4 separate regions of the Homo sapiens genome follow, and regions 2, 3 and 4 are each linked to region 1. The links are contacts of gene promoters, found by promoter capture Hi-C in blood cells and fetal thymus (Javierre and others, 2016). All regions are on one chromosome and are shown on one strand. The core of a region is centred on a gene start or on the middle of the fragment in contact, and the rest is flanking DNA. Distances in the headings are between cores, read along the strand shown. Region 1 holds the start of PKM (pyruvate kinase M1/2). Region 2 overlaps BBS4 (Bardet-Biedl syndrome 4). Region 3 overlaps ARIH1 (ariadne RBR E3 ubiquitin protein ligase 1). Region 4 overlaps ARIH1 (ariadne RBR E3 ubiquitin protein ligase 1).

Region 1 (3,395 bases), core at 430-2,929:
GAGTACGTAGATTAAGAAGCCAAGGGATGCCCTTACATGACTGAGTCTTTAAATGATCTTCAGACTGGAAGGTGCTTTCCTGCATCTTCTAATCCAGTGTGCTTGCCACCTGGTGAGACCTTACGAGGCTTCCTGTCCCCCTCCCTCCCACAGCAGGAAGCTCGTACCCCACTCCCAGCATTACAGGAGATACATTTTAAGATTGTGAGCTCGGTGGGCTATGACTCGTCTAGTCATCCTGGTCTCTAACTCTGACCCCCAAACAGCCCTTGACCCACACCGTTTGCGTTCAGTGAACGCGACAGATTTCCTGCCCCCTCCGTAACCAGATCCCCACCCCACCCCGCGGCCTCCGCGTTCCACAATCAGGACGCATTTGTTAAAAAATGTGCCGGATAATTAAAAAAAAAAAAAAGAAAGAAAAAAGAAAGGAAAAGAAAGAAACGTGCCGGAGAGGCGCGGAACGGGCGAGGGCCAGGAGGCCCCAGCAAAGCCTGCAGAGGTTTATCCCGCCCGTTACGAGGCCCAAGGCCATCGCCCGGTGAAGCGGGGTGGGCCCTGGGCGCGGCCGCTACGTGCAGCCCGGCCGCGGCGAGATGGAGCGTGGTCCCTGGCGGCCACCCGGCAAGGGCCGGTCGAGCTCTCGGGCCCCGAGCCATTCCCAGGCCCTCGCAGGCCGCCCATCTAATCCCGGCCACAGGGGACGGCACCGCGCCGCAGGGGCAACCGCCCTGCCTCCCGGCAGCGGGGCAGGCCAACGTTACGTAAGTCTCCAGCTGCCCCCGGGCCGCCGCATCCCGCCCGCCGCGCGGGGCACCCAGCCCAGCCCTCCGCCCGCCCGCCCCGGACACGGGGCCTCAGCACCGCCCGAGCCTGCTGGGAGCTGGGAGGCGGTGATGGAAAAGGGGGGTGGGACCGCGCTCGGAGACCGGAGCAAGTGGGCGGGCGCGACCAGAGCAGAGAGGGAGGGAGGGAGCGGACACGCCAGGCGAGGAAGGGGATGCGGGGGAGCGGACGTGACCAGCAAGCAGGGGGAGGGGCGGCGAGAGGGAACTGGGGCGCGGGAAGGGCGGTCGCGCATGAATGGAGAATGGACGCGGGAGGGGAACCAGAACGCAGTTTCAATGAGTTACACAGAAAGCATTAGAATCAGGGGACACGCACAGCTTGAAGAGGAGGGGGTGGAAGGACCAGACTTAAGGAGGAAGAGGGGAAAACGAGCACGGAACAGGCGGCGCGGAGAAAGGGGAAGCAAGGGTGGAATCAATCACGAGGGACCGAGAGAAGGCAGGCGAGGATGGAGGCGCATTGAGGATTGGGGCAGGAGGAAGAGGATGGGACCAGAATGAGGGGGTAGGGCTGGGGCGGGAAAGGAGCCGGCGGACCCGCCTGATCTGGAAGGAACGGCGCTGGGGACTTCTGAAGAGCAGGCCCCAGGCGTGAGGAGCCGTTCTCCTCTCTCTGAGCTCCACTGCATCCCAGACGCCCTGGATCCTGCGCCGCCCTGCCTGCGTGCCCGGGGCCGGCCGGCGCGCCGGGATTCCGCACTAGCCGGGCGACTGGCCCTTGGTGGGGACTGATGGCGTAGCCTCCTGCACCGCTCACCTCCGGCGCTGACCGACTCGGGCTACGCTGCAAAGACGAAGAGATCCGGAGCCACGGCGCGTGCAGCTGCTGTGCAAGGAGCCACTGCCTCAGCCTCAAGGTTATCCCGCTGCGGGCCGCCGCAATCCCTCCGCCGCCCCGCCCTCTGCCCAATCCCGGCTCCGGGCGACCCGGGCCCCGCCCCCTGCGTCCCCGCGGGCGCAGTCACCTTCAGGAGGAAGCGCGGCGGCGGCGGCGGAACGCGCGGGCAGGTTGCCCTTTCGGTGGGACTAAATTCTGCGGCGGAAGGACACAGATTCAGAGTCACATTTTAAGAAACCTGATGACCAATGGGGACGCGGCGGGGCAACGGGGCCCGCCCCCGGAGCGACTTTCCTCCCAGACCCCCGGGCGCCGGGCCACCTGTTGCCGCCAAGTTGGGCTGCCAGATGGGGTGTCTTTTCTTGGCTCTCGGCCCAGGCCACCCCAGCTGTCCCGGCCTACCTGGGCAGGGCCCAGATTTATGGGTTCCGGGGCAGCATTCTCCCGGCCCCGCCCTGCCACTCCCCACTCCTCCGGGTGTCTGCTCTGGCGCACCCTCGGAGACTGAGCTGAACGGAAAGTTGGGGAGAGCTGCAGACTTGTGCGTGGTTGGAGGTCCTGGCCGCCTTCGGAGGGGCTCTGGCACTGGAGCGGCAGTAGGGAGAACTAGGGACTGCGAAGTGGGCCTGGAGCGGGAGCGCGAGGCCGTTTTCCTCTTAGGACCATTCATTGTGTTAGGACCGCGGAACAAGGAAGGACCGGTTGGGGCCATGTGAATAATTTAGTAGGGTCTGGAATCCTGCAGAGCGAATGCCTCAGAGTAGAAAGTAAATAGACGGTGTTGATATTAGCGCAGAGCTGGGCATCTGGAAATATCAAGTCAGAACATTAGGGCCGATAACCTATGCAGGAGTCAGCATTTCTGTTTTCACCTTTGTCGTGTTTAAGTCAGTATTGTTGGAACTTTTCTTACATTTTTCTACAAGACATTTTCTGATTTCCCAGTTGTTAGCCAGCAACTAATGATGCGAGCAGTTATCAATTAAACAGCTGTTAACTCTTGCCTTCATTCACAGATACAATGTTGCGCATTCAAAATGTGAAGACCGTTCTCTTAGGTTCTTTTTTTATTTTCCTGGCAAAAGAGACCAAATGGGTGTGACCTGCTCAGGCATACCCGCTGCCTGCAGCTGAATCACAGGCCTTCATTCGCTTCCTGTTAGCTCAGATAAGCTGGGAGGAGACAGTGACAGCCTAAAAGTAAATTTCTGTTTGAAGTGAGATAAAAATCTTTCACTTTCTTCTGTAAGTCTTTCCTGGTCCCTTTAGTTGTTGTTGGGAAGGAAATGCTTGATTATTAAGGTGGTGAAAGAACATGAAGTTGTTGAGAAGGAAAAAAGACATGCCCCCCTAGGGAGGGTTAGATTCCTCTCTATCAGAGAAAGAGGGATGGCATAAAAGTCCCTCCCTGGCCCCTGAGCTGAGGACAAACTAAGAACAGTGGTGGACAACACTGGGATGGCAAGGATCTGGCCGATGCTGGACTATATTGTATTTTAAAGTTCTAAATTGTCTGGGTGCAGTGGCTCACGCCTGTAATCCCAACACTTTGGGAAGCCGAGGCCGGCGAATCACATGAGGCCAGGAGTTGAGACCATCCTGGCCAACGTGGCGAAACCCCGTCTTTACTAAAAATACAAAAACTAGCTGGGCATGGTGGTGCACGTCTGTAATCCCAGCTACTCGGGAAGCTGAGGCAGAATCGCTTG
Region 2 (3,395 bases), core at 410-2,909, 460 kb after region 1:
GATAAGGATATATGGATATGGAGGAGAGAAAAGGAAAAGACTCAAAACTCACAGAATTTTTGAAGAAATGTATAGCTAAAAATCTAAGAAGGCTACAGTCAAGGCCTTGAGGCCAGAAGACACCCCATCAAAACTGAGTAAAACTAGCCCAGTGTGGGACGCAGAAATTCTAGTATGCTACCAAAATTACTTACGGATTGCTACCAGTTCCTTAGAAGGAAAACTGAGGACTAATATTTGTATTTTCAGTATAGTTTAGAATTCTTAAAAAATGAGCAAACAGGCTGTACTTGGTGGCTCATGCCTGTAATGCCAGGACTTGTGGAAACTGAGGTGAGAGGATAACTTGAGTCCAGAGGTTTGAGACCAGTCTGGGCAACATGTTGGAGCCCCATTTCTACAAAAAACACAAAAATTAGCCAGACGTGGTGGCACGCGCCTGTCTTCCCAGCTACTGGGGAGGATCATCTGAGCCTGGGGGAAGTTGAGGCTCCAGTGAGCCATGATCATGCCACTGGACTCCAGCAGGGGCAGAGTGAGACTTTGTCTGAAAAAAACAAAAAATGAATGAGCAACTAACTCTGGCTTTCATGATTTGTGCTTATAAATCTTTTTATTTATTTATTTATTTATTTATTTATTTATTTATTTATTTATTTTGAGACGGAGTCTTGCTCTGTCGCCCAGGCTGGAGCGCAGTGGCGCGATCTCGGCTCACTGCAACCTCCGCCTCCCGGGTTCACGCCATTCTCCAGCCTGAGCCTCCGGAGTAGCTGGGACTACAGGCGCCTGCCACCACGCCCAGCTAATTTTTTGTATTTTTAGTAGAGACGGGGTTTCACCGTGTTAGCCAGGATGGTTTCAATCTCCTGACCTTGTGATCCGCCCGACTCAGCCTCCCAAAGTGCTGGGATTACAGGCGAGCCACTGTACCCAGCCTATAAATTTTTTTTATAATGCCCTGATTCCCATTATTTGATGTATTTGGATAAATATGTCATCCTGTAAATTGAAGGATTAAACTGATAAGAGCAGAAAACAGAAATTAGTACACTAGTTGATCTGGCTCAGATATAGTGCCTATGTATCAGGTGCTCCATGAATATTTGTTGGATGAATAAATGATCATAAAACTATATAAAAATGAAGAAATAACAGAATAAAATAATTTGTTCTATATAAATCCTATGAATGAGATTGAGTGGGCTAATAGAATCCTTTCCATCTCAAAATGTTCTGGAAAGTCTTGAGTAAAAGACTCATCAAAAAAATAATTCTGCTTTGTGCAGAAAGAAGGGTTGCTGACCTTTGAAGGTGCTTTTTGAGTCTTTAACATTCTTTAGTAGTATATTCCCCAAAGTTAAGAAATTCTAGTTAGATTTTAAAAAATTGAGTTAACATTTAAAAAACAGTTTTGTTGAGGTATAATACACGTACCATAAAATTTACTCAATTTAAGTACAAAGTTTGATCAGTTTTAGTAAATTTATATAGTTGCACAGCTGTCATCAGAGGCTGCTTTTAAAACATGTCCATCACTCCAGAAGGGTTCCTGTGTCAATGGAATTGCTGGGTTATATTGTTTAAGTATTTGTTTAAAAAAACAGAAACAAATCTGCCTAACTTCTGCAGGCTATATACGAGTTAACATTTCCATGAGCAATGCATGAGGGTTGTGATTTTTCCACATCCCTGTCAACACTTGGTTTGTCAGTTTGTTTTTATTTAGCTGTTGTAGTGGATGGGTAGTGATGGTGTATGGTGGTTTTAATTTGTATTTCCTTCATGAATAATGATATTGAAGATTTTTTATATGTTTATTTTCCACCCGTATCTCTTTGGTGAAATGTCTTTATAAATTTTTGTGAATTTTTAAATCAAGATCATTAACCAAATGAGCCCCTCATTTGGGCTCAAGTGATCCTTCCACCTCAACCTCCCGAGTAGCTGGGACCACAGGTGCAGGCCACGCTTGGCTAATTTTTGTATATTTTGTAGAGGCGGGGTTTTGCCATGTTGCCCAGGCTGGTCTTAAACTCCTGAACTCAAGCAATTGGCCTGCCTCACATAAGTATTCTCTTTTATTTTGAGGATTAATTTTTGTTGTTGTGAAATATATCCTACCTGTAAAAGAGTGCTTAAAATGTCGTATGTGTGCTTTAAAGGATAATATAATGGAAACTTGTGTTCCTACTGCCCAGGTTAGGAAATGGGTTATTAATAACTTTGAAACCTCCTAAATGCCTCTCTCCTACTGCATTTTCCTTCCTCCACATCAGATGTAGTGTTTCTTCAATTTTATATTAATATTTTGTACTTTTTATAGTTTTACCATATATGTTTATATATATCCTTAATATATTAGTTTTTAAAATTTGTTATTAACCTTCAGTTTATTCATTATTTCAACACTGTATAGTATCTTATTGTAGTAAAGTATGTCAATTAACTTATCCATTCCACTAGATGGAGATCGGGATTATTTCTGGTTTTTAGTTATTAAAAACAATGCTGCTGCTGGGTGCAGTGGCTTACGCCTGTAATCCTAGCACTTTGGGAGGCCGAGGCTGCGGATCATGAGGTCAAGAGATCGAGATCATCCTGGCCAACATGGTGCAACTCCGTCTCTACTAAAAATACAAAAATTAGCAGGATGCGGTGCTGCGCGCCTGTAGTCCCTGCTACTCGGGAGGCTGAGGCGGGAGAATCACTTGAACCCAGGAGGCGGAGGTTGCAGTGAGCCGAGATTGTGCCACTGCACTTCAGCTTGGCAGAGCGAGACTTCGTCTCAAAAAAAAAAAAAAAAAAAGCTGCTATAAATATGGCCAAGACTAAGGAAAGGTAAGTGAGGTGCTTAGGGTTCACATTTTATGGAGTAAGAGTAAGTACCTTCTTAAGGTTTATACCCTAGGTTCTTCACATGCCTCACTTTAGTCCTAGCCCTGAGCATTATTATGTAGGTCTTCTGATGCAATATCTAAGAGTTTCTCTAAGGTATACCTAGAAATAGATTGCTAGGTAATGGAGTAACTTTATTACTTACAGGAAACTATATGGTGGTTGTAACAATTTATGCTTCTGCCACCAGTCATGGTGGATATGAAATTATGTCTTAATGTGATAATTTACATTGCAATTTTTTTTTTTTTTTTTTTTTTTTTTTTTGAGACAGAGTCTTGCTCTGTCACCCAGGCTGGAGTGCAGTGGCGTGATCTTGGCTCACTGCAACCTCTGCCTCCTGGGCTCAAGTGATCCTTCCACCTCAGCCTCCCGAGTAGCTGAGACCACAGGCGCAGGCCACACTTGGCTAATTTTTGTATATTCTGTAGAGGCGGGGTTTCGTCATGTTACCCAGGCTGGTCTTAAACTCCTGAACTCAAGCAATCGGCCTGCCT
Region 3 (3,395 bases), core at 285-2,784, 330 kb after region 1:
TCCTGATGCTAAACCTGTTCGCTGCAAATGTGGGCGCCAATTTTGGTAAGCAAGTGATTTCCTAAATTGAAATAGTGCACAAAGCGTTTCCATTTCTCCTGTTTATTCTTGGTAGTAAAATAGCAGAAAAAAAGTGTTTACCTTAGGCAGGGAGATGTTTGATACTGGTTTAAAATAGTATATATCTCTTTCAGAATTGAATGAAAAGGTCACATCTTAAAAAAATTTTTCCTCTTTCCTTGATGTTCTAACTTTTTTGAATTTTTTTTTATGGAGAAAATATACAACTCTAATCATATCTTCCTGTATGCTCCACTGTAACTTAATGGGAGCAAACTTGTAGATCTGGGACTATACGTTTTTCTTTACTCTGCCAAATTTTAACCTTACTTATGCAAAGGAAATGTGCAGGTAAATTCTGCTGATGGTCTCCTTTTTAACTAAGAGTTTTCCTGTGGCTCCTCTCGCCCAGCTTTCTTGGTAACTTGGGCTTTTGGAGTTCTATAGTATACTCTTCAGCCTCTGAATTCTAGATTTGAACTGCCAGGAAGTTTCCAGTGCCACATATTAGGGGATGTCTTAATCAGTTCAGGCTCCTTTATAGGTGTTCTAGTTTTTTCCAAAGTGGATAGGCTGAAAATTTTTCAAATTTTTGACTTCTTATTTCCTTTTGATGAACAGTTTATCTCTAGGTCATTCATCTCTTCTTGCATTTTCTATAAACATTCAAGAGAAGCTAAGCTGCGTCTTCAACACTTTGCTTAGTAATTTCCTCAACCAGATATTCAGTTTCATTTCTCTACCTTCCACAAAACAATTCAGCCAACTTCTTTGCCACTTTATAGCAAGGATGGCCTTTCCTCTAGTTTCTAACAGCATGTTCCTCATTTTCATCTGAGACCTCATCATAATGGCCTTTACTGTCCATATTTCTAACAACATTCTGTTCATGGCCATTTATTTAGGTTTTCTCTATGATTGAGGCATTCCCTGCACTTCTGTCTTTCTGAATCCTCACCAGAATTACCCTTAACAATTCAGTTCATTCACAGTGATCTAGGCTTTTTCTAGCTTGCACTTCCAAGCTCTTCCAGCCTCTACTTACTACCTAGTTTCAAATCGGCTTTCACATTTTTGGTTTTGTTAGAACAGCACCCTCACTTCTTGGTACCATTTTCTGTCTTAATGTTCAGGCTTTTATAACAAAAGACCATAAACTGGGCGGCTTCTAAACAACATAAATTTATTTCTTACAGTTCTTAAGGGTGAGAAGTCCAAGATCAAGGTGCCAAAAGATTTGTTGTCTGGCGAGGGCCTGCTTTTCTGGTTCATAGATGGTGCCTACTTGCTGGGTCCTCATATGGTGGAAAGGACAAGGCAGCTCTCTGGGCCCCTTTTTTTTTTAAAAAGGATGCCAATTCCATTCACCTCCTAAAGGCTCCACATCCTAATACTGTCACATTGGTTATTAAGTTTTAACATACACATTTTAGGGGGACACAAACATTTATATCCTGCTAGAAGTTAAGATGATTTTCTGTTCCTTTGAGGGTCTTGAGGAGTAAGAAGCCAATCAAGTCAAGGGGCTCTAGACCCAGCAAATAGATTTTTTGTTTTGTTTTGTTTTGAGAGAGGGTCTCACTCCATCACCCAGGCTGGAGTGCAGTGGCACGATCTCGCACTGTAACCTTTGCTTCTCAGGTTCAAGTGATTCTTGTGCCTCTTGAGTAGCTGGGATTACAGGCGTGTGCCACCACGCCTGGCTAATTTTTATTTATTTATTTATTTGTTTATTTATTTATGTATTTATTTTTAATAGAGACAGCATTTCACCTTGTTGGCCAGGCTGGTCTTGAACTCCTGGCCTCAAGTAATCCACCTGCCTCGGCCCTCCCTAAGTGCTGGGATTACAGGTGAGAAGCACCATGGCCAGCCAGATTTTCTTTTTTGCTGCGGGGTGGTTTGGAGGGGGAAATATTTTATTGGTATTCCATACCTTTCTTTTTTTCCTCCAAACATCTATAGAATTACACTTAACACATCATTAATAATAAATATTTCCAAAAAGAGCAGGTAAGCTCACAGAGATTAAGTATGTGTAAAATACATACTGTTTCGATAAAGATTAATTATGTATTGTTATTTTAGAGAAAAGGTGGATAATACCTACTTTCCAATGTATTTTTAGCGTGACACATTTCAAACATAAAAGTATAGAGAATACAGCAGTGAATACCTATATAGCTACAATCCAGTTAAATCAAAATTAGTATTTTGTTTTTCTTCATTAAGAGATAAAACATGACACATATATTTGAAGCTCCTTGGTTCCCTGCTCCTTCCCATTCCCCATCTTTCTTTTCAGAAATAACCATTTATCTTAACCTGATTTAAATCAATAGTAGTTTGTTTCTGTCTTTAGCAAAGGACTTTTTGCCATTCGTAAATTACTTAATTAGCTAATTAATCTGTCATTTTATTATTTTTTTCTTAAGCATTTGTGTTTGTTAATTATACTTCTTTTACAAGTGTATATGTCATGAACTTAGAAAACAAAAGTGAATTACTGATTAACACATGTTTAGTGAGTATTTAGTCTTTTTGTTTTATACCTTGCCCAGTACCATTTCCCTCTACAGGGCGGAGGTTCATTTGTTTAAATAATGCAAAGATGTGACCTATTTGCTTCCCATATATTGTTTACTGTGTATTAGTACTAAATTATATAAGTAACCTACAAAGTCAGCCTTTTATTCTTCATTTAGGGTGTTAAGTAAAAGATTAAAAATGCACTGATGAAGCATGGGTTGAAACTTCTCAATATAGTCTGAGGCACCTTAGCAACAATTATTATGAAATTGTCATCAAAGCGTGTCTTCATGCTTATAGTCATTCTTCACACATATTGAGTACCCACTATGTGCTAGTTCTACTACTAAATTCTAGGTAATTAACTGTAAAGCAGACATGGGTTCTCTCCTTGTATTTGCCAGTCACTAGAAACTAGTGACAATACTGTGGAACTATAAGGCATGAAATGATTGGCTTATTTACTTGCTTACAGTAGGTAGGCCTTAATTCTATTAACTCTTTGTGTCACTTAACAGCTTTAACTGTGGAGAAAATTGGCATGATCCTGTTAAATGTAAGGTGAGTTTGTCTGACATTTCAATTTTTAAATAATGGCACACTTCTAAGACTTAGTGACTAAAAATCATAGCTGATGATTTTGTTATCTATCTATTGATAGATTTTTTTTTATCCTTTTAATTTCAGATGATCATTACATGTATTCAGAGGTAATTCCTTAGGATAAGCCAAGTCAGCTCCTGATTGTTATTAGGATAACCATGGCTAAGGCACCTCTTTGTCAGGCTTTGTAATTAGGGGAATAC
Region 4 (3,395 bases), core at 234-2,733, 260 kb after region 1:
TGTATGAAGTTACAAACTTAGACTAGTGGTCCAAAAAGCCCAGCATTCTTCTGAAAGAAGCACCAAGAGATTCTGGAAGAATAGCACCGTGAAACTGTTATGGAGGCACTAGATAACAAATGCTTGCTTTAAAGGGAGAAGAGCCAGTTTATTTTGCTCGGTAATGAGAAAATAGTTCTTTAGTAAAGTTCTCAGGTGAGCTTATTACTAATGCCGTTTAACTTCAAATGTGAGAAAATATGTTTACTTTTTAACCTGTTCACCACTTCACCTCTTATGAAGGGGAAAACTTAGGGAGTGGGCCTCAAATTACTTGTCATTTAATTTGGAAATGTTCCTTTGAAATTTGGAAACGTATGTACATAATTTTAGTCACTGATTTGTTACAGAATTTTTAAATGTAGTAATTACATTTCATTGGCCCTAAAAATGTTGTCTGTTTTTAATAATCATCTCTAATTGTATTGCATTAATATAATAGCTGGGTCCTTAGGATATATGATAATGTATGAAGCTTGATTATAATGTTGCATTCCACCCAGCTATAAAGCCAAAGTGGTGAAAATAGGACTTTTAAATATACAGAAGTATTCTAGTCACCCTTAGGAATGAAAGTATAACATTAAGCAATATTTGAAGATTTAAGGATGGCAGTAAGCTTGCCTAATCTTTGATTCATACCACTGTCAACACAGTTTTTGATTCATGTAGAGTCAAATTAACAAGGTTGGAAGGATCCTAATGGTTATCCTAGCCAACCACATATCAAGTACTACCTCCCTGGTAAGTGGTCCTGTAGACTATTCTTAAATGTCTACTCTGGCTAAACCTTCACAGCCACTTCCAGAAGACCTCTGATTTAGAGTTCTTTCATACTCTGATTTTGTCTTCCTGTAGCTTTTTACCTGAACCTACCTGGTTCTAACCCTTCTCATGATAGCGATTCTATAATTTTAAAGACTTATTTAACATATTGGAGACTAGCAGTGCAATAACCTAATCCAGACTAACACTTTTTGGGGGGGGAGGTCAGAACCCAGAATAAAGCTGCTGCTTATTCTGGGTTTACTTCTTATGGATTGTTGATTAGAAAGATTATTCTGCACTGGTATTTTGGATTGAGGCCTGTGCATGTCTGTTCAGGCAAAGTTTACATAAGGTAGAACACTACAGCAGCACATGTGCACCCTGCTCAATTAAATAAATATCAGGCAGATCTGTTTGTTCATACCCTCATTGCAGATACTGAAGGGTTGGTGGGTTTTGCAGTAACGAATGAATAATTCATCTTGATATTACTATATTAATAGTTTTGGGTTCTGTATATTTCCTCCGACTCAGAATTTACAAAAATAAAAGCACTTTCTAGACAGTTAACTAGTTAGCTCTGAGTAGAATGTTTTCTACTACCTTTTTAAAGATTCTAGATCATTTTGAGCAAAGAATATTGAAATTGCATTGCAAACTTATCTTTGTGAATCAGGTTTTTCTTCATTCTATGTACAAAACAAAATATAGAAATAAGATGTATACTGAGCTTTTCTCCATAACCTCAGATTTTTTTTAAAAAGTTAAAACAGTCTTAGTATGCTAAGAGTGACTGTTTATAAACTTTTTTAAAGGATTTTAAATTTTTTATTGTTTGTGCATACATATATTTTCTTGGTTCAAATTCAAAAAGCACAAAAGATTTAAAAAAAACATATATATCTGCCTTTATACCTCAACTACGTGGTTCCCTCCCTCACAGTATTATTGATGTCTTAGTACTTTTCTCATAAATGCAGAACCCTTCCCTAACCTGATTTTTATATTTCTTATAAGATCCTAAATAATCGTGTTATAGTTTATGAATTTCTGAGGTTAGTGGGTCCCTAAATATAATGCTTCAGTTTAATTGGGAACCATTTGTAAATTGAGTACTTGATTTATTTTTATCAGCTGAGATTTCTTTAGCTGCCACACTGCTGGGGGAATACAGATAATGGACAACTCTTTAAGAAATAATGTATAAATAAATTATAATGCGACGCTTTGTTTCATAGTAGAAGCATAAGGTCGAGAAGGAATATTTAATGCTCTTCTCTGGGAGGACCGACTTGCTGGTAGGAATGGAAGCTGAATTTTGAAAAATGAATGGTAGCTTACTAGGCAGATGGGGTTAGAGGTGGCATTCCAGACAAAGGAGGAAGAGGAATGGAAGAAGTTGTGGTATGTTGAATGAACAATAAGGAATTGAATATTGCTGAAATTACTGGGAAGTAGAGTGGTAGGAGCTGGGGCTAGACAGGCAGTGTGATCAGATTATGAAAGCTTTTAGCGTAGTGCTGTTGAGATGGACTTAATTCACTAGGACTACGTGAAACAACTTTAAACTTTTAAATTAATAAGGAATTAGAGTTTAAAAGGCCACTCTGTTGGTACTATAGGAAATAAATGAGAACAGGACGGGATTAGGAAACTGGGAGAGTAGTGAGTAATCCATTAGAATAACCTGTGAAAGAAATGGGTTAGCAAGGCTGGAATGGAGGAGGGAAGGCATTCAAGATACCGTGAGAAATGATGAATTATTAGGAAAAAAAAAAAAAACTTAGTGATTAAGTCTTTGGTGTCATTTAGAACCACATTCAGTTCCAGCTTTGCCTTTTACCAGCTCTGTGACTTCGTATGTAAATTTGATTTTAATAAATTCTGTTTCATCATCTGTGAGTATTGTAATTGTGTAGTTGAAGCTTTAAGCAACTTTCATTTAACTAACTTGGTGAATAGTTAATAGTTGCTCTCCATTCCCTCAGTAAAAGAGACCTAGGGCAGTGTTCATGACAGGCTCTCAGCTTGTCGGCCTAAGTGGCAAAATTAACCAGTCACGATAGCCCTTATACTGTGTGGTATCATTTATACAAAATGTCCTGAATTGGCAAATCTATAGAGATAGAAAGTAGATCAGTGGTTGTCAGAGGCTGAGTGGGGGAAATGGGGCGTGACTGCTAATGAGTATAGGGTTTCTTTTTAGGGTGATGAAATGTTCTAAAATTAATGGTTGACACAACTGTCACAATTCTGTGAATATAATCAAAACCACTGAACTACTTTTGAGAGTTAATTTCATGGTATATCTCAAGTTGTCACAGAAAAAAAGTCTAATTCAGTATTCCCCATTTGTCCAATACGTCTTTTATAGCTTTTCTTCTTTTGGTCAAGGATCATGGATTGCATTTGGTTATCATGTCTCTTTATTTGTCCATGTTCTTGATGGGTTAAAATAATAAAGAATATACAAATGGTTAGATCTCCTATAAACAAAAGAATATACAAATGGTTAGATCTCCTATAAACAAAAGTTTCCTGAAACTTCCTTAAACATGTAGCATGGATCTAGTTTATTTTAGTTGCAT

Evidence for each region. The method cuts DNA at HindIII sites, captures the fragments that hold promoters and counts their contacts. A CHiCAGO score of 5 or more calls a contact.
Region 2: a contact is called between a fragment that was not itself captured here and the fragment with the promoter of PKM in region 1, in 1 of 17 cell types (neutrophils). The highest score is 5.5, in neutrophils.
Region 3: a contact is called between a fragment that was not itself captured here and the fragment with the promoter of PKM in region 1, in 2 of 17 cell types (monocytes and activated CD4 T cells). The highest score is 5.2, in monocytes.
Region 4: a fragment that was not itself captured here is called in contact with the fragment with the promoter of PKM in region 1 in 1 of 17 cell types (neutrophils); the score reaches 5.2 in neutrophils.

What each region holds. Positions count from the first base shown.
Region 1 is chr15:72,229,511-72,232,905 of GRCh38, forward strand. It overlaps PKM (pyruvate kinase M1/2), which reads right to left and starts at 1,680. Exons shown (of 11, transcript NM_002654.6): 1 at 1,606-1,680. RefSeq lists silencers at 552-1,061, 1,622-2,121. The HindIII fragment of the contact is 11,333 bases long and covers 1-3,395 here.
Region 2 is chr15:72,689,169-72,692,563 of GRCh38, forward strand. All of the region lies in intron 1 of BBS4 (Bardet-Biedl syndrome 4), which reads left to right. Among named protein-coding and RNA genes, the nearest start is that of BBS4, 4.7 kb to the left of the region's middle. The HindIII fragment of the contact is 7,938 bases long and covers 1-3,395 here.
Region 3 is chr15:72,563,456-72,566,850 of GRCh38, forward strand. It overlaps ARIH1 (ariadne RBR E3 ubiquitin protein ligase 1), which reads left to right. Exons shown (of 14, transcript NM_005744.5): 7 at 1-45; 8 at 3,108-3,150. Among named protein-coding and RNA genes, the nearest start is that of MIR630, 22 kb to the right of the region's middle. The HindIII fragment of the contact is 4,063 bases long and covers 1-3,395 here.
Region 4 is chr15:72,492,252-72,495,646 of GRCh38, forward strand. All of the region lies in intron 1 of ARIH1 (ariadne RBR E3 ubiquitin protein ligase 1), which reads left to right. Among named protein-coding and RNA genes, the nearest start is that of ARIH1, 20 kb to the left of the region's middle. The HindIII fragment of the contact is 1,655 bases long and covers 657-2,311 here.